Regions from separate parts of the Homo sapiens genome. Here regions 1, 3, 4, 5, 6 and 7 are each linked to region 2. The links are contacts of gene promoters, found by promoter capture Hi-C in blood cells and fetal thymus (Javierre and others, 2016). All regions are on one chromosome and are shown on one strand. The core of a region is centred on a gene start or on the middle of the fragment in contact, and the rest is flanking DNA. Distances in the headings are between cores, read along the strand shown. Region 1 has its middle 55 kb from the start of SLC25A52. Region 2 holds the start of TRAPPC8 (trafficking protein particle complex subunit 8). Region 3 overlaps RNF125 (ring finger protein 125). Region 4 overlaps TRAPPC8 (trafficking protein particle complex subunit 8). Region 5 overlaps TRAPPC8 (trafficking protein particle complex subunit 8). Region 6 overlaps TRAPPC8 (trafficking protein particle complex subunit 8). Region 7 overlaps RNF125 (ring finger protein 125).

The links. Contacts are between HindIII fragments. The CHiCAGO score rates a contact against its expected background, and 5 or more counts as called.
Region 1: a fragment that was not itself captured here is called in contact with the fragment with the promoter of TRAPPC8 in region 2 in 5 of 17 cell types (fetal thymus, total CD4 T cells, activated CD4 T cells and 2 more); the score reaches 7.7 in fetal thymus.
Region 3: a contact is called between a fragment that was not itself captured here and the fragment with the promoter of TRAPPC8 in region 2, in 7 of 17 cell types (naive CD8 T cells, total CD8 T cells, non-activated CD4 T cells and 4 more). The highest score is 10.6, in naive CD8 T cells.
Region 4: a contact is called between a fragment that was not itself captured here and the fragment with the promoter of TRAPPC8 in region 2, in 13 of 17 cell types (activated CD4 T cells, total CD4 T cells, non-activated CD4 T cells and 10 more). The highest score is 11.3, in activated CD4 T cells.
Region 5: a fragment that was not itself captured here is called in contact with the fragment with the promoter of TRAPPC8 in region 2 in 15 of 17 cell types (naive CD8 T cells, total CD8 T cells, total CD4 T cells and 12 more); the score reaches 12.4 in naive CD8 T cells.
Region 6: a fragment that was not itself captured here is called in contact with the fragment with the promoter of TRAPPC8 in region 2 in 16 of 17 cell types (total CD8 T cells, non-activated CD4 T cells, total CD4 T cells and 13 more); the score reaches 15.4 in total CD8 T cells.
Region 7: a fragment that was not itself captured here is called in contact with the fragment with the promoter of TRAPPC8 in region 2 in 10 of 17 cell types (neutrophils, total CD8 T cells, naive CD8 T cells and 7 more); the score reaches 15.5 in neutrophils.

What each region holds. Positions count from the first base shown.
Region 1 is chr18:31,814,017-31,817,820 of GRCh38, reverse strand. No RefSeq gene overlaps it. Among named protein-coding and RNA genes, the nearest start is that of SLC25A52, 55 kb to the right of the region's middle. The HindIII fragment of the contact is 2,516 bases long and covers 699-3,214 here.
Region 2 is chr18:31,940,638-31,944,513 of GRCh38, reverse strand. TRAPPC8 (trafficking protein particle complex subunit 8) reads left to right here and starts at 1,386. Exons shown (of 29, transcript NM_014939.5): 1 at 1,386-1,906. The coding sequence starts at 1,750. RefSeq lists enhancers at 1,402-1,611, 1,713-2,491 and a silencer at 1,662-1,781. The HindIII fragment of the contact is 12,839 bases long and covers 1-2,679 here.
Region 3 is chr18:32,036,265-32,040,469 of GRCh38, reverse strand. RNF125 (ring finger protein 125) reads right to left here. Exons shown (of 6, transcript NM_017831.4): 2 at 3,201-3,354. Among named protein-coding and RNA genes, the nearest start is that of RNF125, 20 kb to the right of the region's middle. The HindIII fragment of the contact is 7,519 bases long and covers 1-4,205 here.
Region 4 is chr18:31,830,894-31,834,909 of GRCh38, reverse strand. It overlaps TRAPPC8 (trafficking protein particle complex subunit 8), which reads left to right. Exons shown (of 29, transcript NM_014939.5): 28 at 2,737-2,826; 29 at 3,921-4,016. Among named protein-coding and RNA genes, the nearest start is that of SLC25A52, 72 kb to the right of the region's middle. The HindIII fragment of the contact is 1,655 bases long and covers 1,274-2,928 here.
Region 5 is chr18:31,876,482-31,880,464 of GRCh38, reverse strand. The region is part of intron 12 of TRAPPC8 (trafficking protein particle complex subunit 8); the gene reads left to right. Among named protein-coding and RNA genes, the nearest start is that of TRAPPC8, 65 kb to the left of the region's middle. The HindIII fragment of the contact is 214 bases long and covers 2,058-2,271 here.
Region 6 is chr18:31,855,223-31,859,528 of GRCh38, reverse strand. TRAPPC8 (trafficking protein particle complex subunit 8) reads left to right here. Exons shown (of 29, transcript NM_014939.5): 20 at 1,547-1,989; 21 at 3,722-3,869. Among named protein-coding and RNA genes, the nearest start is that of TRAPPC8, 86 kb to the left of the region's middle. The HindIII fragment of the contact is 2,713 bases long and covers 201-2,913 here.
Region 7 is chr18:32,056,048-32,060,168 of GRCh38, reverse strand. All of the region lies in intron 4 of RNF125 (ring finger protein 125), which reads right to left. Among named protein-coding and RNA genes, the nearest start is that of RNF138, 34 kb to the left of the region's middle. RefSeq lists an enhancer at 1,965-2,500. The HindIII fragment of the contact is 2,736 bases long and covers 558-3,293 here.

The DNA.
Region 1 (3,804 bases), core at 707-3,206, 130 kb after region 2:
TAGCCTTTCCTCCTTTATTATCTTGCATCTAACTCAGATCAGATGGTGCGGAAGACTCCATGATTGTTATATCCTCAATGTGGAATGTTAAATATACCTTTCCCAAAAAGAACACCACCTCAATTAATCAGATTACTGTAACTGTGTGCTAGCCTTGTGTGGAAAATGTTGAAACATTGTTAAGCTTCCCAAACCTTATTTATATAAATGACCCCCAAAACTTCTCCACTTTGGAGCACTGGCTTCCATTCTTTGGAATCTGTGTTCCTGGATGCCTATCCTTAAAATTTGTGCTTGACTAAATGCTATATTTAACCATATTTCTTGAATCTCTTTAAGGTCGACACTCTATAGCAACCACCGCACTATTTTAAGTTACCAATTCTGTTCAAGATTCTAGGCTTTATTTTGATTGTAAACTTGGGGCTTGGCACATCAACTGTGAGATTTGTTTCTTTCATATCATTCCTTAATACTTAGAACAATGCAGGACACATACTAGAAATTCTTGTTGAATTGAATAGAAGAAATGAACTGATGAATGAGATATTGGGTACCATAACTCTTTTGACCAATGCCCTCTGATCACTTTAAATCTCAAGAAGAGCCTCAATTTCAATAATTAAAATTTCCAAGAACTTTAATAACCAGCATTCTGAATTTCATAAAGTTAACATTGGCTTCTCTCCTGGGAAGCTTTCAGTTTGGGAGGAAGATGGCCAACTTCTCCATTTTTCTACTGTGTGCTTCTCCTTCCTGTGTTAATATACTTGGCTGACTCTGAATCTTCCAGAATTTGGTAAAAGTACCTAAGTAGGAGTAGCAAGGGTGTAGGAACGCCTTACCTCACCGGTACTGTGATAACCTGGCATTGATGGTCTCTGGGCACCAGGGAATGTTTTGTGGGTTCTTGAGAGATCTCCCATTACTGGGAATCTTCCACAAGGTGGAAGCCATGTGTCGATGATAGAGCAACAATTTAGTAGAAGCCCATCGTCCCGATGATTGTGGAGTCTACATAGTTGCCTGGGACTGTCTATCTGGACTTTTGTGCAAAAGAAGTAAAGTTTAATTTTATTAAACCTATTGATTTTTTTTGCTGAACATACCCTAACTAATAAAACTATGTTGCCATTGCCAGTAAGGTGTGTTGTCCCCTCTGAGTGTTTAAGATCCTAGCAGGAAGCCATGTTGTTCATCATGTTATACCTATGGATTTTGTGCAGTGCCTGGGCATAGACTATATGTTCAAAAATATTTGTTTGATGAATAGATCAACCTGATATTTTTATAGGGGCAGGCTGGTTTGATGTGCCACATTTTATTATTGAAACCCAATTTTTAATACAGCAGTTAATTTGGCTGAGTTTAGTATTGTTATTGTTGACCACTTATCCCCTCAATTCTCGTCTCTCGGAGTCATTTTTTTTTTTAATACTTTAAGTTCTGGGTACATGTGCAGAACGTGCAGGTTTGTTACATAGGTATACATGTGCCATGGTGGTTTGCTGCACCCATCAACTCCTCATCTACATTAGGTATTTCTCCTAATGCTATCCCTTCCCTTGCCCCCAACCTTGCCCTGGGGGAACGCCCCAGTGTGTGACGTTCCCCTCCCTGTGTCCGTGTGTTCTCATTGTTCAACTCCCACTTATGAGTGAGAACATGCAGTGTTTGGTTTTCTGTTCCTGTGTTAGTTTGCTGAGAATGATGGTTTCCAGCTTCATCTGTATCCCTGCAAAGGACATGAACTCATTCTTTTTTATGGCTGTATAGTATTCCATGGTGTATATGTGCCACATTTTCTTTATCCAGTCTATCGTTGATGGGCATTTGTCCCAGAATCTTTTTTTTTTTTTTTTTTTGAGACAGAGTCTCACTCTGTCACCCTGGCTGGAGTGCAGTGGTGTGATCTCAGCTCACTGCAACCTCCCTTTCCTGGGTTCAAGCGATTCTCCTGCCTCAGCCTCCCGAGTAGCTGGGACTAGAGGTGTGCGTCACCACACCTGGCTAATTTTTGTATTTTTAGTAGAGTTGGGGTTTCACCATGTTGTTCAGGCTGGTCTCTAACTCCTGACCTGGTGATCTGCCCGCCTTGGCCTCCCAAAGTGCTGGGATTACAAGAGTGAGCCATCACACCCCGCCCAGATGATGTTTTAGAAGTCTAGTCTTTGGGCTGGGCGCGGTGGCTCACGCCTGTAATCCCAGCACTTTGAGAGGCCGAGGTGGGTGGATCACAAGGTCAGGAGATCGAGACCATCCTGGCTAACACAGTGAAACCCCATCTCTACTAAAAATACAAAAAATTAGCCAGGCTTGGTGGTGCATGCCTGTAGTCCTAGCTACTCAGGATGCTGAGGCAGAAGAATCGCTTGAACGCGGGAGGCAGAGATTGCAGTGAGCCGACATCGCGCCACTGCACTCCAGCCTGGGCAACAGAGTGAGACTTCATCTCAAAAAAAAAAAAAAAAAAAAAGAAGAAGTCTAGTCTTTGACCAGGTTCCCCTCATCATCCACCAGGATACTCACAGCCGTCCTGGTTGTTCTTGTCTGGGCAGCGGCTGTGCTGGCTTCCAGGGTCACCTCTGGCCACTGGCAGGTAACAGGCTTCTCTTTGGCCACAGCTTTTTTCATGCTGCTTTGTCCTGACTGTGGCCAATCTAAGCCCTTCCTTAAGGCCCCAAATCACAGCTAATACTATAAGCTGCAGCACTGAATAATAATTAAGCAAAGACTTGGGGTTAACAAGGACACCAACTACAGTCTGTTTTCTAAATGAGTGAAATTGCCCAAATAGCAAAATTTCCACATTGAAACAAAAGTTTAAATTTCAGTCTTCATTGTTCCATTTGTCTCAATGGGCTTTCACTGGCTGATTATGGGGCAACATAGATTCAAACTTTGGTTTCTAAAATATTTATAGAATATCTATTATAGAGGGCTGCAAGCAAACCTGCCTGACCTTCACTGTAGGGGGATATATTAGCTTTGTTATACTGGACAGGAAGCAACCAACTGTCAGTTTTAGAGAGAGACAGATCTCAACCTTCCAAGGCTGACACAAACATCCAGGAAAAGGTAGTCTGAAACAAAATGGAAGTTAATGCTTTGGCTCACAAGAGATGCAGAAACGCAAGAGCTTCATGAAGAATTATGTCCCAACAGAAAGCAGCCATTATATCCCTTGAAAATACCTTTGCACATCTGAGAAGCTTTTTTTTTGAGTAATGTTAAGAGTAACAAAACAATTTCAGAATGCAACCCACTTGGAAAATTATCCTTAGAGTAAAATCTTAAAGGAAAAAAAGTGTCATATCAAGAAATTGTTAAGATTGCTAGCCAAGAGCCAAGGAGTAAGGATAGCCTCAGAAACCATTTTTACATACATCCTCTAGTGTAACATCATAAACAGAAAGTCTGTGCTAGACATTTATTTCTTGGTATTACACCACAACCGTCTGATGATAAGCAGAAATTATTTGCAGATCAAGACAATTGTTCTGCAGTCTGGATGTCCTCAGATGACTGATAAAGCAATTCTAGGGTTCCCAATATTCACACAAACTTTTCTCTTTGAGGAGGCTGATACCTGGTTCACAGCTTATTTCCTTTTTATTATTCACCATTTTGGCTTTGCAGGCATTCAAGACGTTCTATATTTAGTGTAACCGTTCCCCCTTATGAGATGGTGTGATATTATAAAGGATTTTTAACTCTTTGCAGGAAAATCAGTTTTACCGTTAGTCCCTTATTTATGACAGGGATATCACAACTCTCATATTTTGTAGTATTTTTAATTATTTC
Region 2 (3,876 bases), core at 137-2,636:
AGCCAGAGAAAGGCAAGAATTACTATTTTCTCCTACCGCCCCCTTACATGAAAACGGTGTGCTTCTCAATATCCCGCCCTTTCCCCTTTAAATTTGGAGCACTCAAAATCATCTTCGAAGAAAGGCATAGACCTGTTTCCTGGGCTCGTACTTAACTTCGGCAAATAAATCTCCTAAAGTGATGGACTCTCTTATAAATTAATCTGTAGCCAAGGCATGTCATCAATATGTCCTACTGTGCCTTCCTACCTCCCATTTATCAACTTACATGAGAAGCACACATCTTACTTGTCATAAATTATTACCTTAGTGAAAACCTGAGGGTGTCAAGAAGTCGAAAAATTTGAGACATTGACGTTGGGGAAGACACCTTTAATTAGAGCACCATAAAATCATGATAGAATGATACATTTTTCCTTGCCTTATATTTTTGGCATGCAAAACAGAAGGAGCTCAAACAATTGAGTGACACATTAGTAAAATTCCTTTCATTCATTTCTACTTACAAGGCACACACCATTGACCTCACCCCGTCCCCCCCTTTAAAACAATATTTGACCCGCGCCCCCCCCCCTTTAAAGCAATCTTTGAAAAGTTAGGAATGAAAGCCGGTTCAGGACAGTACACAGTACACAAATACTGGCTTCCCCTACCTCCACCACAAGCAAGTAAACATCCTAGCACAGTGTAAAAAGGAAGAGGCTGAGGACGAACCACGCGGACATTTGCAGGCACACCCCTTCCCTGCGACCAACAAAAATGCAGTAGCGCAATTACACTTGAAGGAATTGCAGCACTCACAAAAGCACACATTCTGTTCAATGGTTGAGTCCACATAAAGTGACAGTCCGTTTCTAAAAGCATGGCTGTATTTAAAGGACACATGGTCTGTTCAGGTCCGCTTCAGCGAAACCCCAAGCACTTCCGAGAGATCCACTCCCTCTCTCCGAGCAGGTGCCACTAGCTGCTCCGCCGGCGAGCGTAGGAAGCAGCGCGACCAACCAAATCGGTTGCCCACAACAGCCAGGGACGTCAAAAAGGCCAAACTGCGTGGGAAGCGAGCGTGCGCCTCCATCACCACGACAGCACCCGTCTCGAGGCTCCACCTGCCGCTAGTAGGTGGCTCTCAGCTCTGCTCTGCTAAGGGCGAGCTTGAGAACCCGGCCTACAGTTGTGCACCTCCCCCCGCCCCCGCCCCCGCCCCCGCCCCCGCCCACCGCACTTGTAGCCCCGCCCCGCCCAGGGAGCTTCCGTCACAACACTTCCGGCTCCAGCCTCCCAACCGGCCTCCGTCGTTTTTCACTTCCCTCTCCTCAGCTCTCTTCCCTTGCCCCTACCGTCTCCTTTAACACAGTCACGTGAGGGACGCGCGCGGGGGCAGCTGGGAGTAGTACTGCCGGTTGGTCAGGGTTCGGCCTCAACATGGCGGTTCCGGCCGGGCAGTGACCAAGGTTTTGCCGTCCGAAGGACTAAGTGGTGACTGTCGGCGTCTCCACCTATCGGGGTGGAATGCGAGCACGCGGGGACGAGCGCTGAGAAGCGGCGGTGACGGGAAGGGGGGGGTCAGTGGATTGTGCCCCAGAAACCGAAGCGGCGGCGTCTGTTCCTTCTTGTTTCTAGGCTCCAGTGCGTTCGGGGCCCCGCCCGGCCGGGCCAGGCCGGCGGGCGGCGGCGGTAGCTGCTGCAGCCGCAGGATAACCTCGCAGGGTGGGCCGGAGGGCGGGCGCCGCCGCTGCCTGTGCTGCGGCGATGGCCCAGTGTGTACAATCAGTGCAGGAGCTAATCCCGGACTCCTTCGTCCCCTGTGTCGCTGCGCTGTGCAGCGACGAAGCCGAGCGGCTCACTCGTCTCAATCACCTCAGCTTCGCGGAGCTGCTTAAGCCCTTCTCCCGCCTCACTTCCGAGGGTATGTGGTATCCTCCCTTTTCCAGTGGGCTCCCGCAAAGCCGTGGTCGGGAGAAGGAAGTTGCGGGCGGGCAGGGAAGAGAAGGGCAGTGTTTACGTCCTGGAGCCGGTACCGTGGCGTCTGGGGCTGTGGCCCCGCGGTGCTCCGGGGGCGGCTGGAGGAGGGACCGTGAGGTTGTCAAGACAGCGCAGTCCTAAGCTCCAGTTTCTCTGGGCACTTCCTTTCTTCCTCGGACAACCTAGGTCGTTAAGTAATTGGTGCAAAGATAAACGTGAGTCTTCGAGAACGGCATTGAGACTGTTCTCCACGGCCATAGCGAAGGAATTAGGCACTTGCAAAGCAGCTAAGGTAGGAAAATGCTGCCTCTTAGACCGACAGGGTCTGAGTAAGGAAGACCTGTCATCCTCCCTTGGATGTTAAACTGGACTTTGAAAGTAGTTGTGGATGTTATTACATTCTTGTAGCGTTGAGGGTCATCTCTGTCTGAACTACCGTGTAGCTGTTTTACTAATATATTCTTAGCTATACGGTATTTTGCTTAACCTCTCAAGAAAATTAAAAGTATTATAAGAAGAATAAAACTTGAAGCAGCTTTTTGCCCTAAGGAAGAGGAAGCAAGCCCAAGTTGTGGTTAATTTAACCTGGATATTTGGAGTTATCTATAGTTATAGGGATGGAAATGTCTTCTCTTGTTAATGAATGTCTTGTTAAGAAGCTACCCGTTTTCTCCAGTTTTGGATTTTTTTATTAGGAGAAAATAATGTGGTAAAGCTTCAAGCATGTTTTAGCCAATATCTTGCAAACAACAAAGTCCAAGTAAAGTTTTTTTTGTTAAGGTCGGTAAGAACTGAAGGGTTTCATAATAAGCCTGTGTCAGGCAAACGACTGTGATGTTTGTTAGCTTAATATGACTTATCCACAAAAAAAATCAGTGCTGTACCATTTTTGCGCTACCATGTTTTTTGGGAGAATAGTTCCATTATAAATTAGCTTTTGTTTTTAGCGGAGAGAGGGAGCTGTCCAAAAAAACAAAGTTTGGAAACTTTTGGATTTTCTTTAGCCTGTATCGTAGCCATCAGTCTCAGTTCCTTCAGTGTTGGACTTAAGAGCAACAAAATGCCCTACGTTTTTTATTTTTTTGTTATTTATTTATTTATTTATTTTGAGATGGAGTTTCGCTCTTGTTGCCCAGACTGGAGTGCAGTGGCGCGATCTCAGCCCACCGCCACCTCCGCCTCCCAGGTTCAAGCGATTCTCCTGCCTCAGCCTTCTGAGTAACTGAGATTACAGGCATGCGCCACCATACTCGGATAATTTTTGTATTTTTAGTAGAGACAGGGTTTCTCCATGTTGGTCAGGTTGGTCTCGAACTCCCGACCTCAGGTGATCTGCCCGCCTCGGCCTCGCAAAGTGCGGGGATTATGGGCGTGAGCCACCGCGCCCGGCCTTGAATTCCTAAAAAAACACAAACACTTGAGCTAGTTTTACTTTTATATGTGTACTCTTTCCTTCTTTCTTAATAAATAATAATAATGCTAATACCTGATACTTGCTTTGTGTAACTTTTCTTTTTTAGTCCTCATTGAATCCTGTTATTGCAATTTTAAATTTGAGGACCTTGAAGCATAGAAGTGTTAATTTGTTCACAGTTTTGCGTCTGGGAAAGATTTGAAACAGGCAGTGTGACTCAAGACATTGTGTTCTTAATCATCTTATCTCCTGACAGTATTTAGAATTATGTATTTACACCATAGAGCAGTGCTGTCTAATTGAAATATAATGTGAGTCACAGGTATAATTAAAAAATTTTCGGCCGGGCGCGGTGGCTCACGCTTGTAATCCCAGCTCTTTGGGAGGCCGAGGCGGGTGGATCACGAGGTCAGGAGTTCGAGACCATCCTGGCCAACATGGTGAAACCCCGTTTCTACTAAAAATACAAAAATTAGCTGGGCGTGGTGGTGGGCGCCTGT
Region 3 (4,205 bases), core at 859-3,358, 95 kb before region 2:
GGAAACCCCCTCTCTACTAAAGATACAAAAATTAGCCGGGTGTGGTGGTGTGCACCTATAGTCCCAGCTACTTGGGAGGCTGAGACAGGAGAAGTGCTTGAACCCAGGAGGCAGAGGTTGCAGTGAGCTGAGATGGTGCCACTGCACTACAGCCTGGGTGACAGAGCAAGACTCTGTCTCAAAAAAAAAAAAAAAAAAAAGAAAGAAATTGTTTGATATAGGGAACTGGAAAACTAAGGCCAGGCCTCAAGGAATGGAGATCTGGCGGGACTCTGAAGAACACAGAGAGTGCAACATGGAGAGGGCAAAATGTGCGTAGAAGGAATGGGGAGCATTCCTAGAAAGAGGGATAACACAGAAAGGAAAAGACAGAATATAAGAAGTATCTCAAAGCTGGGCGCAGTGGCTCATACTTGTAATCCTAGCACTTTGGGAGGCCGAGGTGGACAGATCACCTGTGGTCAGAAGTTCAAGACCAGCCTGGCCAACATGGTGAAACCACGTCTCTACTAAAATACAAAAATTAGCCGGGCATAGTGGTGCATGCCTGTAGTCCCAGCTACTCGGGAGGCTGAGGCACGAGAATCTCTTGAACGTGCAAAGTGGAGGTTACAGTGAGCCAAGATCATACACCACTGCACTCCATCCTGGGCAACAGAGTGAGACTCCATCTCAAAAAAAAAAAAAAAAAAGTATCTCAAAGAAAAAAATCAAAATCTTTGTGATTAATCAGATAATGGGGGAGGGGGAGTGGTGGATTTCCACACAAGTTAATTGAGAGAATCCTCTTGTTTCTGACAGACACCAAGGTGGGATCAAGAATTGGATGATTAAACAATATAATGAGTTTGATTTTGTGTATGAATTTTATGTGAAGACAAAGTAAAAATAGGCAATAATCTATTATTAAGAATGTAAAAAGCTATTAATTTTGAGCATTTACTATATTCCAGACACTGTGTTAAAAGACAATCATCAGTTATATATATATCACATATATATTTATCATTTACCTTTAAAACCACCCTCTAACATGAACATGAACATGATCCTCTCCCCAGCTCCTCTTTTTTGTTGAGAGAGTCTTGCTATGTTGCCCAAGCTGGAGTGCAGTGGCACGATCATAGTTTACTGCAGCCTTGATCTCCTGGGCTCAAGCGCTCTTCCTACTCAGCCTCTGGAGTATCTAGGACTACAGGCGTATACCACTATGCCCCAGCTAATTTTTTTGATTTTTAGTAGAGACAAGGTCTCTTCCCAGGTTGGTCTTGAACTCCTGAGCTCAAGCAATCCTCCCGCCTCGGGCTCCCAAAGTGCTGGGATTACAGGCATGAGCCACTGCGCCTGGCCTCCAAACCATTTTCTATGTGTATGTTAGAGTGATATCTTAAAGATACAATCCTGGGCTGGGCATGGTGGCTCATGCCTGTAATCCCAGCACTTTGGGAGTCCGAGGCGGGCAGATCGCCTGAGGTCAGGAGTTCAAGACCAGACTGGCCAACATGGTGAAACTGTGTCTCTACTGAAAATACAAAAGTTAGACAGGCGTGGTGTTGGGCCCCTGTAATCCCAGCTACTCGGGAGGCTGAGGCATGAAAATCGCTTAAACCCAGAAGGTGGAGGCTGCAGTGAGCTGAGATCGCACCACTGCACACCAGCCTGGGCAACAGAGTGCGACTCTGTCTCAAATAAAAATAAAAATAAAGATATAAGCCCGATCTTGGCACTCCAAAACTTACTCTCTTTCTCTGGCTTACTATTGCATTTAAGATAAAATCTAGAATCTTCTACATAACCTTCAAGACCTCACATGATCTGGGGAAGCTGATATAGTACCCAAGTTGAAAACTGCAACAGGCAAGGTGTGCTTGATAGAGACAAATACTGCAAAGTCCAGATCAATACAGGTGGAAATATGTCACTGGGTTTGATAATAAAGCTATTCATTAGTGGTCTGCAACAGAGTAGCAGAACTGGAGGACATATCATAGAGGATCACTGGAGTAATGGGAAGAAGGGAAAATGGAGGTGGTCAATGAAAGCATTTGTTTGACAAATTACGGGTGATGGTAGAAGTTCAGGGTTTTCTGCAGATGATATATGTACATATATGAAATTGGAGGCTGGGTGAGATGGCTCACGCCTGTAATCCCAGCACTTTGGAGGCCAAGGTGGGCAGATCACTTGAAGCCAGGAGTTTGAGAACAGCCTGGCCAACATAGCAAAACCCTCTCTCTACTAAAAAGACAAAAAATTAGCCAGACATTGTGGCACATGCCTGTAGTCCCAGCTACTCGGGAAGCTGAGGCATTAGAATCACTTGAACCTGAGAGGCGGAGCTTGCAGTGGGCCGAGATGGCGCCACTACACTGCAGCCTGGGCGACAGAGCAAGACTCTGTCTCAAAAAAAAAAAAAAAAAAAAAAATGGCACGGACCCAAAGAGTGAGTGGTAGCAAGGTTTCTTGTGAAGAGCAAAAGGACAAAGCTCCCACAACATGGAAGGGGACCCAAGCCGGTTGTCACTGCTAGCTGGGGTGGCCAGCTTTTATTCCCTTATCGTCCCCGCCCATGTTCCGTTTCTGTCCTATCAGAGTGCAGTTTTTCCAATCCTCCCTGCGATTGGCTACTTTCAGAATCCTGCTGATTGGTGCGTTTTACAGAGTGCTGATTGGTGCACTTTACAGAGCACTGATTGATGCGTTTTACAGAGCACTGATTGGTGCATTTTACAGAGCGCTAATTGGTGTGTTTTACAATCCTCTTGTAAGACAGGAAGGTTTCCCAAGTCCCCACTCTACCCGGGAAGTCCAGCTGGCCTCACATCTCACCAGCACTTTGGGAGGCCGAGGCAGGCGGGTAATGAGGTCAGGAGATTGAGACCATCCTGGCTAACATAGTGAAACCGTGTCTCTACTAAAAATACAAAAAATTAGCCAGGCGTGATGGCAGGTGCCTGTAGACCCAGCTACTCGAGAAGCTGCGGGCAGGAGAATCACTTGAACCTGGGAGGCGGAGGTTGCAGTAAGCCGAGATCGCACCACTGCACTCCAACCTGGGTGAAAGAGCGAGAACCTGTCTCAAAAAAAAAAAAAAAAAAAAAAAAAGGTGCGTACCATGGGGTCAGAAGCAGAGGTGAAATGATAACTTTCGCAGGGACTTAAGCTGGTAACCATGAAAATAGGTGGGGTCACATACATACCAGGGTGTCACACTCAGCGCAGTTCTTATACTCTGATTTCATTCTTTTGGCTACATCAGTTGCTGGAACTCCTTCTGAAGGAAGATATGCCCGGCAATAAGGACAGGTCCACTTGTTGTTCTTTAGACTGGTAGCAATACAGGAACGGCAGAATCTACCCCAAACAGACCAAAAATACATCACTTTCCTTGAAAGCTATAAGGAGCCACCACCATGTATTCATTTGTGTAAACTGTAATTTAATGACACCTCGTACCCCATGAGCCATACTACCAAATTACAGGTCCACTTGCACCCTGCACTTCCCGAGAATTGCTTACCTTCCCAGCAAGACTTCTTTAGAATCACACATTCTTACCACATGCACTTTCACACATTTCAAGAAAAGTAAGAATTCAAAGTGGGTGAAATAGCTTTCCTATAGGCTAAGTTTAAACGATACTTTAAAGAATGTCTAAATTGGATTTTACCTCAAATTTCTTGAGAAAATATGTCTTTCTTCTGTGGGGTTTTGTGTGTCACATAAGAAAATAGCAGGAAGTCAAGGAAGTAAAAATACCAGACACATTATAATTCCCTATAAAACCATTTTCTCCTTCCCTCCCTTCCTCCCTCCCCTCCCCTCTCCCCTCCCTCCCTCCCCTCTCCCCTCCCTCCTTCCCTCCCTCCCTTCTTCCTTCCTTCCTTTCCTTCCTTCCTTCCTTCCTTCCTTTCTGGTCAAGAAATATGTTCTCTGGTTTATTTAAAGGTGCTCATTATGAAATCTTAACATAATCAACATTTCCAGAAAATTCTGACCTATTTATAGGAGTTGTTGAAGACTCCATAAACATAGAAATAAAAATGAGCATTTGGGTAATTTATACACATGAGCATGACCTGATGCCTCTTAAACTACTCAGCACATAATATCTATTTGGGAGTATTAATACATGTCCAAAGGTAGGCTTTTTAAATTTTAAGTATACTGTACATACTGGAAAGTTCTTATAAGCATATAGTTGA
Region 4 (4,016 bases), core at 852-3,351, 110 kb after region 2:
TGGAGGATATAAGGAAGCATTCTTAATTTAATGGGGGTTTCAGAAAACAAGTAGAAATGTGAGGAAATGGGACAGTAGGAGGTTTGGTCATGGTAGTGGGACACAGAGCAGTAGAGGTATGAGAATAGAAGAAAGAATAGGTGACAGGAGATAACAAAGATAAAATCATACTATGTTTAGCTGCCATGAGCATAAATTGTTATATTAAATAATGTTTATGGAGCTTTTGAACATGTGCTAGTCACCATTCTCAGCACTTAACATGTTTTACCTAATCACAACAAACCCAAGAGGTAGAATCAATTATTATTCTTTGCAGTTTACAGTTGAGAAAACTGAGGTACAGGTAGCAGTCTGACTCTAGAGCCCAGCTTTTTCACTGGATGCAGTGGTGGGAGAATAGTTGTCAGAACTTTGATTTCTCAGCCCTGTTTGTGGTTCATTAGATTAGCATTTTAGAAAAACTAATGTGTAAAGCAGTTTTCAAAATGTGGTCCCAAGACTGGACCTGGTGGCACACACCTGTAATCCCAGCACTTTGGGAGGCCAAGGCGGGCGGATCTCCTGAGGTCAGGAGTTCAAGACCAGCCTAGTCAACATGGTGAAACCCCATCTCTACTAAAAAATAAAAAAAAATTAGCCGGGTGTGGTGGCGAGCGCTTGTAATCCCAGCTACTGGGGAGGCTGAGGCAGAATAGCTTGAACCTGGGAAGCTGAGGGTGCAGTGAGCCAAGATCGTGCCACTGCACTCCAGCCTGGGCAAAAAGAGCAAAACTCCATCTCAAAGAATAAAAAACAACAACAACAACAACAACAACAACCAAAATGTGATCCCAGACCAGGAGCATTAGTATTAGTATCATCTGGGAACTTAGAAATGTAATTTCTGTTTTTTGTTTTTTTTTTTTGAGACGGAGTCTTGCTCTGTCACCCAGGCTCGAGTGCAGTGGTGTGATCTCGGCTCACTGCAAGCTCCACCTCCTGGGTTCATGCCATTCTTCTGCCTCAGCCTCCCGAGTAACTGGGACTATAGGCACCTGCCACCACGCCCGGCTACTTTTTGTATTTTTAGTAAAGACGGGGTTTCACCATGTTAGCCAGGATGATCTTGATCTCCTGACCTTGTGATCCGCCCGCCTCGGTCTCCCAAAATGCTGGGATTACAAGCGCAAGCCACCGTGCCCAGCCTAGGAATGCAATGTTTGGGCCACACTCCAGACCTATGGAATCAGAATCTCTGAGAGTAGGCCCAGCAGGTTTTTTAAAACAAGCTTGCCAGGTATTTCTGGTGCATACTCAAGTGTGAGAAACATGGTTAAAGAATAGATTGCATTGTGGTGCTAATTAAGAGGCTCTTGCAGTAAAATGAGACATGAGACTTGAACTTGTAAGGAAAATGAGATACAGTGAAGTAACCAGGTTCCAGAGATGTGTGGGTGAGAGAATTGGCAGGAATTTGTGAAGAACATTGGGAGTGGAGGTTAGTGACTGTTAGGAGGAATCAGTATGATACTTACAGTTTGCTGGGGTAGATGGGGGTGCTCTTCACTGGAATGAAGATGATGAGTTTCACTTTGGACCAGGAGATATCCACATGTTCACATTTCTTCTTCTACTAGAAGCATTTGTATAAGGTACAAAGAATTTGACATTTGAGGATCAAATGGGAACAGAATAGCATAAGTTCCTGAATTTTTACTTTGGGCTACAAATTATGCAATTGGAACTTAATTTAATGAGATGCTTCAGACTGACTGGACACCTACCCAGTAGTCTTTGTTGCCCTTCTTGCCACATGAGAAGTTTGTGGGGGAAGTTAGGGCATAGCACCAGTACAACCTGGTATGTATTTTAAATCATCTTAGTTTTTGTTTAGGGAAACCTGTGACGTTTGCGGTATTGTTTAAAAAGTATTTCTCAGTAAGAAGATATAAAGTTTCTGAAAGTATAAAATATATTATCTGAGCAGAATTTAAAAGTTAATGTGTATGAACTTATACGGTTACTATTTTTTCTTCTTTACTATCTTTGTGTTTATAGAGTAAAAGGTAGATAATAGTATATAACCCTGCTTCATTTGTACATGTTATATTCATTTCTTGCATTCTTGATTTGAAATCTGTACCACTCTATTCGCATGTCCTCTTCTATCACTGCCTTTTTTCCTATGCTTTAGTAATTTATTAATTATGGTATCAGAAACTAGGCTACCTGAGCAAAATGTATCCACTCGAAAGAGATTTCCTCATAACTATATAGAAATCATTCTTATATTCTTCAAAACATGATGTTGTGCAAATTTGATAGAAAAACAAATGTCAGTCTAGGCCAAGTTCTCAAAATTAAGTAATTTTTAATAAGCACAAAGACAACAGTATTAGTTGTTGGCATTTTCATGGTTTACTTTTTCTTCATTGATCTAAGTTGAGATTTTGTTTTTCATTTTGTGAAATATCTAGAAACATTTTAGTTGTTTTTAGAAGATTAATAAATGAAAATAAAATAGTTCTGTGAATGTATATATTCTGATATTTAATATTGTCATTGTATTAATATATTTTTTATTTACAATATAATTTGTCTTGAGTGATTTTGGAACTTGAGCTTTTTCCTTCTTGAATCTGATTGTTTTTAAGGAGCTTATGCTCTGTTACATAGTCTTAAGTGTTATTTTCAGGAAAATTGCTTTTAAGAAGAAAAAAATATATAACTTTTTTGTTTATTTTTCTTCCATAGCCTTTGTTTAGTACCAGTCACTCTTTTACTTTCCAATTGTTCTAAGGCTGATGTAGATGTCATAGTTGATCTTCGGCATAAAACAACAAGGTAAAGATTTGTTTAGTGCAAGGTTATTTGATTTGGGAGCAATTTAATATTTTGAAATTATGCAAATAATTACCTAACATGGATAAGAAAGTTACTCAAGCTTGTCCTGGTTTTTTGTTTGGTAATATAGAAGGCTTACAGATGTGTTACAGAGGCTTTAAATATTAAAGATTTTTTTTTCTTGATTATAAAATAGTACTTAACAACAAAAAAAAATCCAGATCCACAGTCCCACATCAGATACTCCTAGAGCCAAATGCTTTTGGGAATTCAGAAATTTTTGAATTTTTGGAAAAATACTATAAAGCGTATACTTAATATTTTTGTATAACACCCCAAACAGGATCTGGGACAGTTCTCTGAAATCCAAACACACACCTATATATGTGATTTTGTGTATCATAAATTTATTAATACTTTATTGGGTACTGGGTTTTCCATTTTTCAATATTATAAACAGTTTCAATATTAAAAGCATTCATGTACAGACACTTATATATGGCTAACTAAGGAGTTAAAAGTTTAGGTTTGAAATCAAGTTCCAACATATACTAACTCTTAGGGCATTAAATGAAATAATCCACTTTTAGCATTGTGCCTAGAGAATAGAAACTATTAAATAATAAATGTTAGCTGTTATAGTAATGATGTTGCTATTATTAATAAACAGTTGGCTTCATAAAATAATTTTTAGAAATAGAATTGTTAGATGAAAGGGATGTTTGTTTTCTTCTTGAGATGGAGTCTTGCTCTCTCATGGGCTGGAGTGCAGTGGTGCAATCTCAGCTCACTGCAACCTCCGCCTCCCAGGTTCAAGTGACTCTCCTGCCTCAGCCTCCTGAGTAGCTGGGATTACAGGCGTGCACCACCATACCTGGCTAATTTTGTATTTTTAGTAGAGACGGGGCTTCATTATGTTGGTAGGCTGGTCTTGAACTCCTGATCTCAGGTGATCCACCTGCCTCAGCCTCCCAAAGTGCTGGGATTACAGGCGTGAGCCACCGCGCCCAGCTGAAAGGGATATGTTAATGTGACTTTGGGAAAAAAATTAAAAAGAAAAAAATCCTGCAACTTACATTTTCCTCCTCCCTTAGTCCAGAAGCACTGGAAATCCATGGATCATTCACATGGCTTGGACAAACACAGTATAAACTTCAACTTAAAAGCCAGGAGATTCACAGTCTGCAGCT
Region 5 (3,983 bases), core at 915-3,414, 65 kb after region 2:
AGCTTTTATCATGAAGGGATTTTGGACTTTATTGAATGCTTTTTCTGTATCTATTGAGATGATCATATGGTTTTTAATTCTCTTTATGTGGTGAGTAACATTTATTGGTTTGCAAATATTGAACCATCCTTGTATTTCTGGAATAAAACCCACTGGATTGTGATTAATTTGACTTTTTGATGTCCAGCTGGATTTGGTTTGCTAGTATTTTATTGATGGTTTTTGCATCTGTGTTCATCATGGGTATTGACTTGTTTTCTTTTTGTGTGTATGTCCTTGCCAGATTTTGATATCAGGATGATATTAGTTAAGGAGGAATCTTTCTTCCTTAAAAAAAAAAAAATATATATATATATATATATATATATATATATTTTTTTTTTCAATAGTTTCAGTAAAATTGGTACCAGCTCTTCTTTGTGCATATGGTAGAATTTGGCTTTGAATCCAGCTATCTTGGGCTTCATTTGGTTGTTTATTTATTTTTTTTTTTAATTACTGATGGAATTTTGTAACTACTTAATGACCTATTCAAGATTTGAGTTTCTTCCTTGTTCAGTCTTGGGAGATTGTATGATTCTGGGAATTAACCCATTTCCTCTAGGTTTTCTAGTTTGTGTGCATAGAGGTTCATAGTATTCTCTGAGGACCTTTTGTATTTCTGTGGTATCAGTTGTGATGTCACCTTTGTCATATCTGATTGTGCTTATTAAAATCATCTCTTCTTTTTCTTGCTTAATCTTGCCTAGTAGTCTCATCAATTTTGTTTGTGTTTTCAAATAACTTTATTTTGTTGATTCTTTGTATGATTTCTTTGGTCTCAATTTCATTTAAAGAATAAAGATCTGCTCTGATCTTTATTTCTTTTCTTTTGCCAGCTTGGGCTTGGTTTGTTCTTGTTTCTGTTTCCTCTAGATGTGACATTATTAATTTGAGATCTGTCTTTTTGATATAAGCATTTAGTGCTGTAAACTTTCCTCTTAACACTGCTTTTGCTGTATCCAAGAGGTATTGATATGTTGTGTTTCTGTGTTCATTTGTTTCAAAATTTTTTTAAATTTCTGCCTTAATTTCATTGTTTACCCTAAAGTCATTCAATACCAAGTTGCTTAGTTTCCATGTACTCGTATGGTTTTGAGCGTTCCTCCTGGTATTGATTTCTAATTTTATTCCACTGTGGTCTGAGAAGATCCTTGATATGATTTTGACTTTTTAAAATTTTTTGAGACTTGCTTTGTGACCCAGTATATGGTCAACTTCAGAGAATGTTCCATGCACAGATAAGAAAAATGTATATCCTGTAGTTGTCAGTTGGAATCTTCTGTAGACGTCTATTAGGTCCATTTGGTCAAAAGTCCGATTTAATTCCAGAGTTTCTTTGTTAGTTTTCTTCCTCGATGATCTGTCTAGTGTTGTCAGTGGGGTGTTGAAGTCCCCCAGTATTACTGTATGGCTGCTTGTCTTGTCTTCAGTCTAGTAGTATTTGTTTTATAAATTTGGATGCTCTGGTATTGAGTGTGTATATGTTTAGGCTAGTTAAATCTTCTTGTTGAATTGAACTCTTTATCATTATATAATTCCCTTCTTTGTCTTTTTTTTTATGTTGTTGGTTTAAAGTCCATTTTATTTGATAACAAGAATAACAACCCCTGCTCTTTTTTGTTTTCCATTTGCGTGATTGATCTTTCTCCACCCCTTGACTTTGAGCCTGTGGATCTCGTTACACAGAAGATAGGTCTCTTGTAGATAGCATATGCTTGGATCTTGTCTTTTGAGTAGAACAATTAAGCTATTTTTGTTCAAAGTTAATATTGATAAGTGAGGTTTTGTATTTGTCATAATGTTGTTAGTTGCTTTGTAGTCCCAATTGTATAACTGCCTTATAGGATCTTTGAACTTTGTACTTACGTGTATCTTTATGGTTAGCAGGTATCATCCTTTTGTTTCCGTGTTTAGAACTCCTTTGAGCATTTCTTGTAGAGCTGGTCGGGTGGTGACAAATTTCTTTAGCATTTTCTTGTCTGAGAAATACTATTTTTTCCTTCAATTATGAAGCTTAGTTTGGCAGGCTGTAAAATTCTTGGCTAGTAGTTTTTTTGTTTTTGTTTTTATTTGTCATTAAAAAGGGTAAAAACAGGCCCCAAATCTCTTTTTGTTGGTAAGGTTTCTTCTGAGAAGTCTGTTGTTAGTCTGATAATATTTACTTTATAGATTATTTGATCCTTTTTGGGATGGGGTGCACCAGTTGCTCATCCTGAGCAGACAGAAGCTTCCTTATCACGCCCCGGTCAGAGGGCTCACAACCATCAGTTCATGTAGACTTTGTCCATTAGGCTCTGACCAGAGTACACTTCCACCAAAACGGGCAGCTGCCACCAAAATGGGCTCAGGGCGGAACTTCTTCCTCTAGTACAGAGTAAACAGCTTTGCAGCTTGTCCACCTTCTGTTGCCCGGATGCTTCTCTGTAGGGAGGGGGAATTGGGCCTTGCCCTTCCTGCAAGCCCAGTTGGCATGGGGTCACTTTTTTTTTTTTTTTTTTTGAGACAGAGTTTTGCACTTGTTACCCAGGCTGGAGTGCAATGGTGCGATCTCGGCTCACTGCAATCTCTGCCTCCTGGATTCAAGCGATTCTCCTGCCTCAGCCTCCCGAGTAGCTGGGATTACAGGCACGCGCCACCACGCCTGGCTAATTTTGTATTTTTAGTAGAGACGGGGTTTCACCATGTTGGTCAGGCTGGTTTCAAACTCTCAACCTCAGGTGATCCACCCGCCTTGGCCTCCCAAAGTGCCTGGGATTATAGGCGTGAGCCACCGTGCCTGGCCATGGGCTCACTTTTTTTTTTTTTTTTTTTTGAGACGGAGTCTCCCTGTTGCCCAGGCTGGAATGCAGTGGCGCGATCTTGGCTCACTGCAGGCTCCGCCCCCCGGGGTTCATGCCATTCTCTTGCCTCAGCCTCCCGAGTAGGTGGGACTACAGGCGCCCGCCACCTCACCCCGGTAATGTTTTGTATTTTTAGTAGAGACGGGGTTTCACCGTGTTAGCCAGGATGGTCTCGATCTCCTGACCTTGTGATCTGCCTGCCTCGGCCTCCCAAAGTGCTGGGATTACAGGTGTGAGCCACCGCGCCCGGCCAGGCTCACTTTTAGCTGTGATGGAGCCACCACAAAAAGCATGAAAAGTGCTTTCCCCAAGGACACGTCTGCCAGCTCCCAGCAGGGAGAACCTCTCCTGTGTTCACAACAGTGGATGGGGTGGGCGGGAAATGATCCCCTCTTCATGTTCATTTCCAGCCGCTGGGGCTGCCCACTTCAGCGATTGTTGCTTGCTTGCATTACCTTTGTCTCAAGGTGGGGCTTTGGCAGGCTACTGTCCCCCCTTCCCCTAGGGGCAGCCTAAATTAACGGTTACATCTCCATGGGTCTCACACCTTCTCTGGGGACCCACTGGTCTCCTAAACTTGCTAATGTCACAGCAGTTGTGAATATGTTAGGGATCTGGTGGTGCGGTGGTGACTCAAGAGCAGAGATTTCCTGGGCAGGGCAGTGGTATCTCCTGTCTCAGTTCAGGCCTGAAAGGAGGGCGGGCATGCCTGTGTGAGCTGGCCACCCACATCCTTGTCCCTGGGACGTTCTCAAACTGCCACTGTTAGTGTTGTCCTGCATCATGAGGGCAGAGGGACTCCCCATCAGTTGGATGGTGAACAGATGGTCAGAGGGGTGAGGGCAGCAGAGAAGTACTCCCACTTACCCTTTCCATGGGGTTTTGTGTTCCTCAGCACTCGATCCCTGCCAAACTCTTGTTGTTTTTCTTTCCTGCACTCTAGTTTCTTTCCATGGGTTCTTCATCATATCCTGGCTGTCTTTTCTCAGTTTTCTGTTTGGATAATTAGTTACTTTGATCTTTCTGAGGAGAACTGGCATCTGAGGATCTGAGGTCCCTAGTAAGTGATCTTTTTTTTTTTTTTTTTTTTTTTGAGATGGA
Region 6 (4,306 bases), core at 308-2,807, 85 kb after region 2:
TGCAGCTGTGTTGGATGTAATAACAAAATTAATAATTCCTCCACAAGTTTTAGCTCGACTATAAGCTTGACACTGACTAATCAGTACAGAGAGTCAGTGTCTTCAGTATAATGCTATGTCTAGCTTATTTTTTTATCCTATTAAATCTATGTGCGGGATTTCTACATTAATCCCTTGTTTTCTCATTTATTTTTAAAGCTTCTAATGTCCCCAAATTTCATCTGATTTTTTTCTTTTTAAGAATATGGCCATAATGAAGTCCCACTCACATTTAGATTCAAAAACATATTTTCACTGGAATTTCATGAAGTGACTGCCAGCTATAACTTTATTAGAACATTTCACTCATATTGTTACCTTTATCTTCCTGCTTGCTTAGATGTTAGTTGTGACATTTAAATATCTGTTTTTTTGTTTGTTTGTTTGTTTGTTTTTTGAGATGGGGTCTCACTCTGTCACCCAGGCTGGAGTGCAGTGGCACAATCTTGGCTCACTGCAACCTCTGCTTCCTGGGCTCGAGCAGTCCTCCCACTGCAGCCTCCCCAGTAGCTGGAACCACAGGCGTGCGGCTCATTTTTTGTAGTTTTGATAGAAACAGGTCTCACCATGTTGCCCAGGCTGGTTTTGAACTCCTGAGCTCAAGGGATCCACCAACTCTGGGATCCACCAACTCTGGCCTCCCAAAGTGTTGGGATTACAGGCATCAGCCACTGTGCCCAGCCAGTATACTTAAAGATCTTTTAAATGCAGATAACTTACTGTATGATTTCATTAGCCCAAATTTCTGTCTCTTTAAGCACAAGTCCACAATCCCTCATCTGAAATATTGAGGCCACATGTGTGTTGGAAATCAATTTAAAAATTTTTTTTAGAAGTGTGTGTGTGAAGTTATGTAAACCCCATTGCTTTGTGGCAGCACCTAGTAACCAAACATTAATATTTCTTGCATGAACTGTATTAATATCACACTAAATGGGAAAGAATATAAAAAGCCTCTATTAGGTCAGGTTTTGCCCCCACATGAGTTACTAAAAGCCTGAGGTTGGAGTTTTTTGGATTTTAAAATTATGGATATGAAATCATAGATCTGCCCATTCTTTCACTTTAAAACCCATAGTAAATCTGGCATATCTTTTCATCTTGATGATATAGACATAAGTAGTTGAGCTGCTTCTTTAGTTGACAGTTATAAGGGTTATAAAACTGATATTTACTTCATATAGCCGTGTTAAATTACTTTCAACTTTTCTGGTCCATAATCTACCAAGTTGTGAAATTTTGACATGTTAGCCCTCTTGTGTACTGATAGTATACCTTTAATTCATAAGTCTAGAATCACTACTGAGTGGCAGAGTAACATTCTTCTGTCTCATCATATTTTCTAAAATGGAGTCATTAACTGCCACATATTCAGGGAGATACCAAAGAATTAATGAAACACTTGTAAACCTTTGGTAAAAAAAAAAAAAAGTGTCTTAAAGTGTTATTCATTAGAGGTTCAAAATTTTTAACAGACAAATAATAATATTTTTTCCCTCCAATGCAGGTGTTCTTTATACATTTTCCTACAGGGCTTCTCTGTGGAGAAATCCGAAAAGCATATGTAGAATTTGTCAATGTCAGCAAATGTCCACTTACTGGATTGAAGGTTGTTTCTAAACGTCCAGAGTTCTTTACTTTCGGTGGTAATACTGCTGTTCTAACACCACTAAGTCCCTCAGCTTCTGAGAATTGTAGTGCTTACAAGACTGTTGTGACAGATGCTACCTCTGTGTGTACAGCACTCATATCATCAGCTTCTTCTGTAGACTTTGGCATTGGCACAGGAAGTCAACCAGAGGTGATTCCTGTTCCCCTTCCTGACACTGTTCTTCTACCCGGAGCCTCAGTGCAGCTGCCAATGTGGTTACGTGGGCCTGATGAAGAAGGTGTCCATGAAATTAACTTTTTGTTTTACTATGAAAGTGTCAAAAAGCAGCCAAAAATACGGTTAGTATTATAAAACTTATAAAATTTAACATCTATGTTCAATGTATATGCACATATTCAGATAAACATTTTGATATTTACTAACATGTTAAGAAATTACTCTGTTCCAGATTATGCAGGATATTTATATCTGAAATTGTCTCAAATAGAACTGTAAGTTCTAGGTACCCAAAAATGAAAAAATAAAATTTAACGGCACACATTTTTTTAGTTGCTTCTGTCTGTAAACTTCTCAATTGTTTGATACGATTTAAGTACTGTAGACAGAGCTATCACATAATAATGAAATTAACAGGTACCATGTATTAAAATAGGGCGTCATTTATGTATGAAGACAACCTGCCTGGTCGTCTCAGTCATCCTTTTTTAAGAAAATTGTTTTGTTTTACCTTTTCCCTAGTGTTCCCCCTTGCCCCACAAGAATGTATGAAAAACAGTACATATTTACAGAAGAGAAGATTATAATGGTGTTACAATAGATGATCACTGAAGAAATCAAAGCTAACTGGCTCATCCAGGATCTATGACCTATATTTTGTTCAACAGAATATTTTCTTTTGATACCTCCATTGTCATTTTTACAAAATTAACTAGGAATAACTTGGGAGGCTGAGGCAGGAGATTCGCTTGAGCCCAGGAAGTCAAGACTACAGAGAGCCGTGATTATACCGTTGTCCTCCAGCTTGGGTGACAGAGCAAGGCTCTGTCTCAAAAAAAAAAAAAAAAAAAAAAGATTTTAGCATTTGAATATCAAGGGAGGGATATGCAAGAGAGTAGTGGGTATTATTCTAGGGAGCGGCTGTATATATTTTATTTGTAAAGATTTACAGATTAGAGAACACAAACTGAATGTAGTTAGTTCAGCCACAGTGTAAAATTTTTGTAAAAGAAGTAAAGAGGAAGAAACCTTTGAAATGTAAAGCTTATATATGGTGAGGAGTTTTGAATACCAGGTTAAAGTTTGAACTTTATTTGGTAGTCATTCAGTAGCTTCAGAACCACTATTAGAAGCAAGGCTGGGCGCAGTGGCTCACACCTATAACCCCAGCACTTTGGGAGGCTGAGGTGGGCCTCACTTAAGATCACTTAAGGTCAGGAGTTCAAGACCAGCCTGACCAATATGGCTGATGAAGATGGTGAATATGATTGATTTTTGGGGGGAGATCACCAAAGTACAGCACATTAACCCTAAATATCCTAGAAAGCAGACACCTTATGATGAAGATGATGAATATGGCGAAACCCCATCTCTACTAAAAATACAAAAATTATAGGGTGTGGTGGTACATGCTTGTAATCCCAGCTACTCAGAGACTGAGGCAGGAGAATCGCTTGATCTGGGAGGCAGAGGTTGCAGTGGTGAGCTGAGATCACCCCACTGCACTCCCACCTGGGTGACAAAGCAAGACTCTGTCTCAAAAAAAAAAGAGAGAGAAAGAAGCACAATCAGAACATTACCATATGAAGATTATTTTTATGTGTTATACAGATGAATTTGATAAGCAGGGCAAAAACTTAGACAGGGAGACTAGTAGTTTCCTTCCAAATTGGATAGAAAGAATTGAACTGAAGTTAGGCTAACTATGTAATTTTACTTAATGTATTCTATGGATTTTTAGAGTATAAATGGTCCTGAGAGTGATCAGTTTTTAAAATCTTTATTTGGAATTAGATAATTATAACATAGAGACTCTGTGCTTAAATGTGCTTTTTTTTTTTTTTTTAACTTCAGGCACAGAATATTAAGACACACTGCAATTATTTGTACCAGTCGGTCTTTAAATGTACGGGCCACTGTCTGCAGAAGTAATTCTCTTGAAAATGAAGAAGGCAGAGGAGGCAATATGCTAGTCTTTGTGGATGTGGAAAATACCAATACTGTAAGTTGGTTTAAAACTGAATTTTGTTTTTAATTATATTTGAAGTGTTTCCCTTGTGTTTAGTAGTGGTTTTTGTTTTCCTTTACAAGACAGCATAAGCTAGGGATTTTAGGAATGTTCATGTAGAATAGTATGAAATCATCTTAATTCTTCATTAGATTTGTGATTTTATCCCTTAGTCTGTCTTCAAATAAAAAGATCTTCTGATATTAATATGGTACACACTGATATGCTATATAGTTCCATTAATTCATTCTAAAAGATCTCATAAAATACTTTCTAGGTCTCACCATTGAGATCCATTGGTGTTACTAAATTGTGAGGTTCTGTTAATATATCACATTCAATATTAACTTGGTAATCTTCACTTGCACATTTCTAACAGTGCCATTTCCTTTATATAGTAAATTTCTGAAATATTGCCATTCCTGTTTATG
Region 7 (4,121 bases), core at 676-3,175, 120 kb before region 2:
CTGGCCTTGAGCATGTTGACTCCAAATAGGCCCTTTCTATGCAATGAATCTTCATTTATTGTTCTTTCTTTTCAAGAAACCATAAAGCCAAAAATAACCAAAATCATTGAGTAGATTTTCTCTACCTTTGTTTTACAAATGACCAAATTGAGGACCAAAGAAATCCTCTTGCTAGGAAAAGGGGAAAGATCTCCTGACCAAGGCTGCTTTAATAGGATTGAAACAAAACAACACTTGATGTGGGTGGAAACAGATGTTTCTTTCCATTTTTGATCAGATGAGGAAGATTCTTTTGAAAGGATAATTATTCCTCTAAATCCTTAGGATATAGATTATTCAATGCTGGTCAAGATAGTATCAAATTAAAAAAAAATAGTCAAAATCAAATCAAAATGGATTAAAAACTTGAATCTAAGACCTCAAACTATGAAACTACTAAAAGAAAACATTGGAGAAACTCTCCAGGACATTGATCTGGGCAAAGATTTCTGGAATAATACCCCACAAACACAGGCAACCAAAGCGAAAATGGACAAATGGAATCACATCCAAAAGCTTCAGCACAGCAAAGGAAACAATCAATAAAGTGAAGAGACAACCCACAGAATGGGAGAAAATATTTGCAAACTCCTCATCTGACAAGGGATTAATAACCAGAATATATAAGGAGTGCAAACAACTCTACAGGAAAAGAAATTAGTAATTCAATTTAAAACAGGCAAACGATTTAAACAGACATTTCTCAAAAGAAGACATATAAATGGCAAATAGGCATATGAAAAAGTGCTCAGCATCATTGATCATCAGAGAAATGCAAATCAAAACTACAATGAGATATCATCTCACCGCAGGTAAAATGGTTTTTATCCAAAAGTCACACAATAACAGATGCTGACGAGGATGTGGAGAAAAGGGAAACTTCATACACGGGTGGTGGGAATGTAAATTAGTACAACTACTACGGAGAAGAATTTAGAGGTTCCTCAAAAAACTGAAAATCAAACTATCATATGATCCAGCAATCCTACTCCCAGGTATATTCCCCAAAGAAAGGAAATCAGTATATTCAAGAAATATCCGCACTCCCATTTTTATTGCAGTACTATTCAGAATAGTCAAGATTTGGAAACAACCTAAGTGTCCAGCAACAGACAAGTGGGTAAAGAAAGCATGGTACATATGGAGTACCATTCAGTCATAAAAACGAATGAGATTTTGTCATTTGCAACAACATGGATGGAACTGGAGGACATTATGTTAAGTGAAATAAGCCTAGCACAGAAAGACAAACTTCACATGTCCTCATTTATTTGTGGGAGCTAAAAATTAAACCAATTGAACTCATGGAGATAGAGGGTAGAATGATGGTTACCAGAGGCTGGGAAGGGTAGTGGGGATTGGGGGAAGTGGGCATGGTTAATGGGTACACAAATATAGTTAGATAGAATGTATAAGATTTAGCATTTCATAGCACAACAGGGCAATTAAAGTCAACAATAATGTATTGTACATTTAAGAGTATAGGCCAGGCACAGGGGCTCACGCCTGAAATCCCAGCACTTTGGGAGGCCAAGGTGGGTGGATCACCTGAGGTCAGGAGTTTGAGACCAGCCTAACCAACGTGGTGAAACCCTGTCTCTACTAAAAATACAAAAATTAGCTGGGTGTGGTCACATGAGCCTGTAGTCCTAGCTACTTGGGAGGCTGAGGCAGGAGAATCCCTTGAACCTGAGAGGCGGAGGTCACAGTGAGCCAAGATCGCACCACTGCACTCTAGCCTGGGCGACAGAACGAGACTCCCTCTCAAAAAAAAAAGAGTATAATTGGATTGTTTGTAACACAAAGAAAGGATAAATGCTTAAGGTGATGGGTATGCCATTTACCCTGATGTGATTATTACACACTGCATGCCTGTATCAAAGTATTTCATGTGCCCCATAAATATATACACCTACTATGCATCCACAAAAATTGAAAGTACATATATGGTCATACTTCTCACTTGCCCTTTAATTTTTTTTTTTTTTTTTTTTTTTAGAGATGGGGTCTCACTCTGTCACCCAGGCTGGAGTGCAATGGTATGATCATGGCTCACTGTAACCACAAACTCCTGGCTTTAAGTAACCCTCCCACTTTGGCCTCATAAAATGCTGGGACTACTGGCATAAGCCACGGTGCCTGGCCACTTTAGCGCTTTAAAGGAAGCAATGGTTCTCAGCGTGGGGTCCTCAGACCAGCAGCATTGTCACCATCTGGTAACTTGTTAGAAATGCAAATTTTCAGGCCCTAGCTCAGACCTATTTTATCAGACACTCTAGGGGCAGAGGCCAGCAATCTATGTTTAAACAGGTCTTGTAGATGATTCTCATGCATGATAAAGTTTGAGAACAACCGCCTTAAAGACAATATAATTTCTTTCAGAGAAACAAGATAAAATAGTAGGCGAACAAATGAGAAATTCTAAATCTAATACCTAGGCTGTAATGGAGAACACCTTTCTTAACTCCAGTACCTATAAAAAAAACAGTCATTTGGACCAGGCGCGGTAGCTCATGCCTGTAATCCCAGCATTTTGGGAGGCTGAGGTGGGCAGATCACCTGAGGTAAGGAGTTTGAGACCAGCCTGACCAACATGGAGAAACTCCGTCTCTACTAAAAATATAAAAATTAGCCAGGTGTGGAGGCATGCCCCTATAATCCCAGCTACTCGGGAGACTGAGGCAGGAGAATCGCTTAAACCCGGGAGGCAGAGGTTGCAGTGAGCCAAGATCGCGCCACTACACTCCAGCCTAGGCAACAACAGCAAAACTCCGTCTCAGAAAAAAAAAAAAAAAAGTCATTTGGGGTTCTATTTTACTGAGAATCATAATTAGGCCAGAAATATGACTCAATCATAAAAAAGCTAGTACAGTGCTGTATGGATAACATTCAATTATCTAGAATAATGGTTGTTTCCTCTGTTCTGCATTCACTGACCATTCTTGGAGTGCTGTGTTCTATTTTAAGTGCTGGGTAAGGAAAACATCAATAAACTGCAATAGACACAGAAGGGAAATTAAGATGTTGAAAGGTGTAGAAACAAAATCCTTGTAATAACTGGGTTACCATTCTGGAAAACTTCAAGCACTCACACAGTAAGTTACTTATCACCTTGAGAGGGAGGCTACATTAGATCACCTCTGAGGACCCTTTTCTCTACGACTGTGTAAAAATCTTTATTAGCTCAATACTATAAACAGCCCAAGTATAATGTAGAAATAGAAATGCTGCTGTATGTCTATTATGTATAAGCTTGAGGAAGAGAGGTAAGGAAGAAGGTTTGTAATTTTTTGCTGTGTAAAAAAATCATTGTTGGCATAAAGCCAAGTGCATTGAGTTTCTTTTGCACCTGTTCTCATTCTCCTACTGTAATCCATGAGAATTAGAAAAACTTCCCACTCCTTTTGCTCTTTTTTTTAAATTTTTTTTGAGATGGAGTTTTGCTCTTTTTTATTGTTTAATGTTATTATCTTTTTTTCTATAATTGTCTTTTTTTTTTTTTTTTTTTGAGACGGAGTTTTGCTCTTTTTGCCCAGGCTAGAGTGCAACGGCGTGATCTTGGCTCACTGCAACGCAATCTCTGCCTCCTGGGTTCAAGTGATTCTCCTGCCTCAGCCTCCCGAGTAGCTGGGATTACAGGCATGGGCCACCATGCCCAGCTAATTTTGTATTTTTAGTAGACATGGGGGGTGGTTTCTCTATATTGGTCAGGCTGGTCTCGAACTCCTGACCTCAGGTGATCTGCCCACCTCAGCCTCCCAAAGTGCTGGGATTACAGTCGGGAGCCACCACGCCAGGCCAGTCCTTTTCCTCTTTATTCATGTGAGTCATTTTCTCAGAGCTTTGTAGGGCAATTTTATAACAGTCTAGATTTACGAGGAGTCAGTACCTGAAGTCTGTTCACTTTACAGAAAGTCTACGAAATCTCTCCTTCTTCCTATGTGAGCCACTTACTTTCATTTTCAGGAATACTGAAGAGAGTAAGAATCCTTGCAAATTCCAGGAAAAAAAAAGTCCTATATGACGTTAAAAACAAAGTGTCTTTTATAAAGGCAGCCAGAAATAATAATGGATTTCTTAAG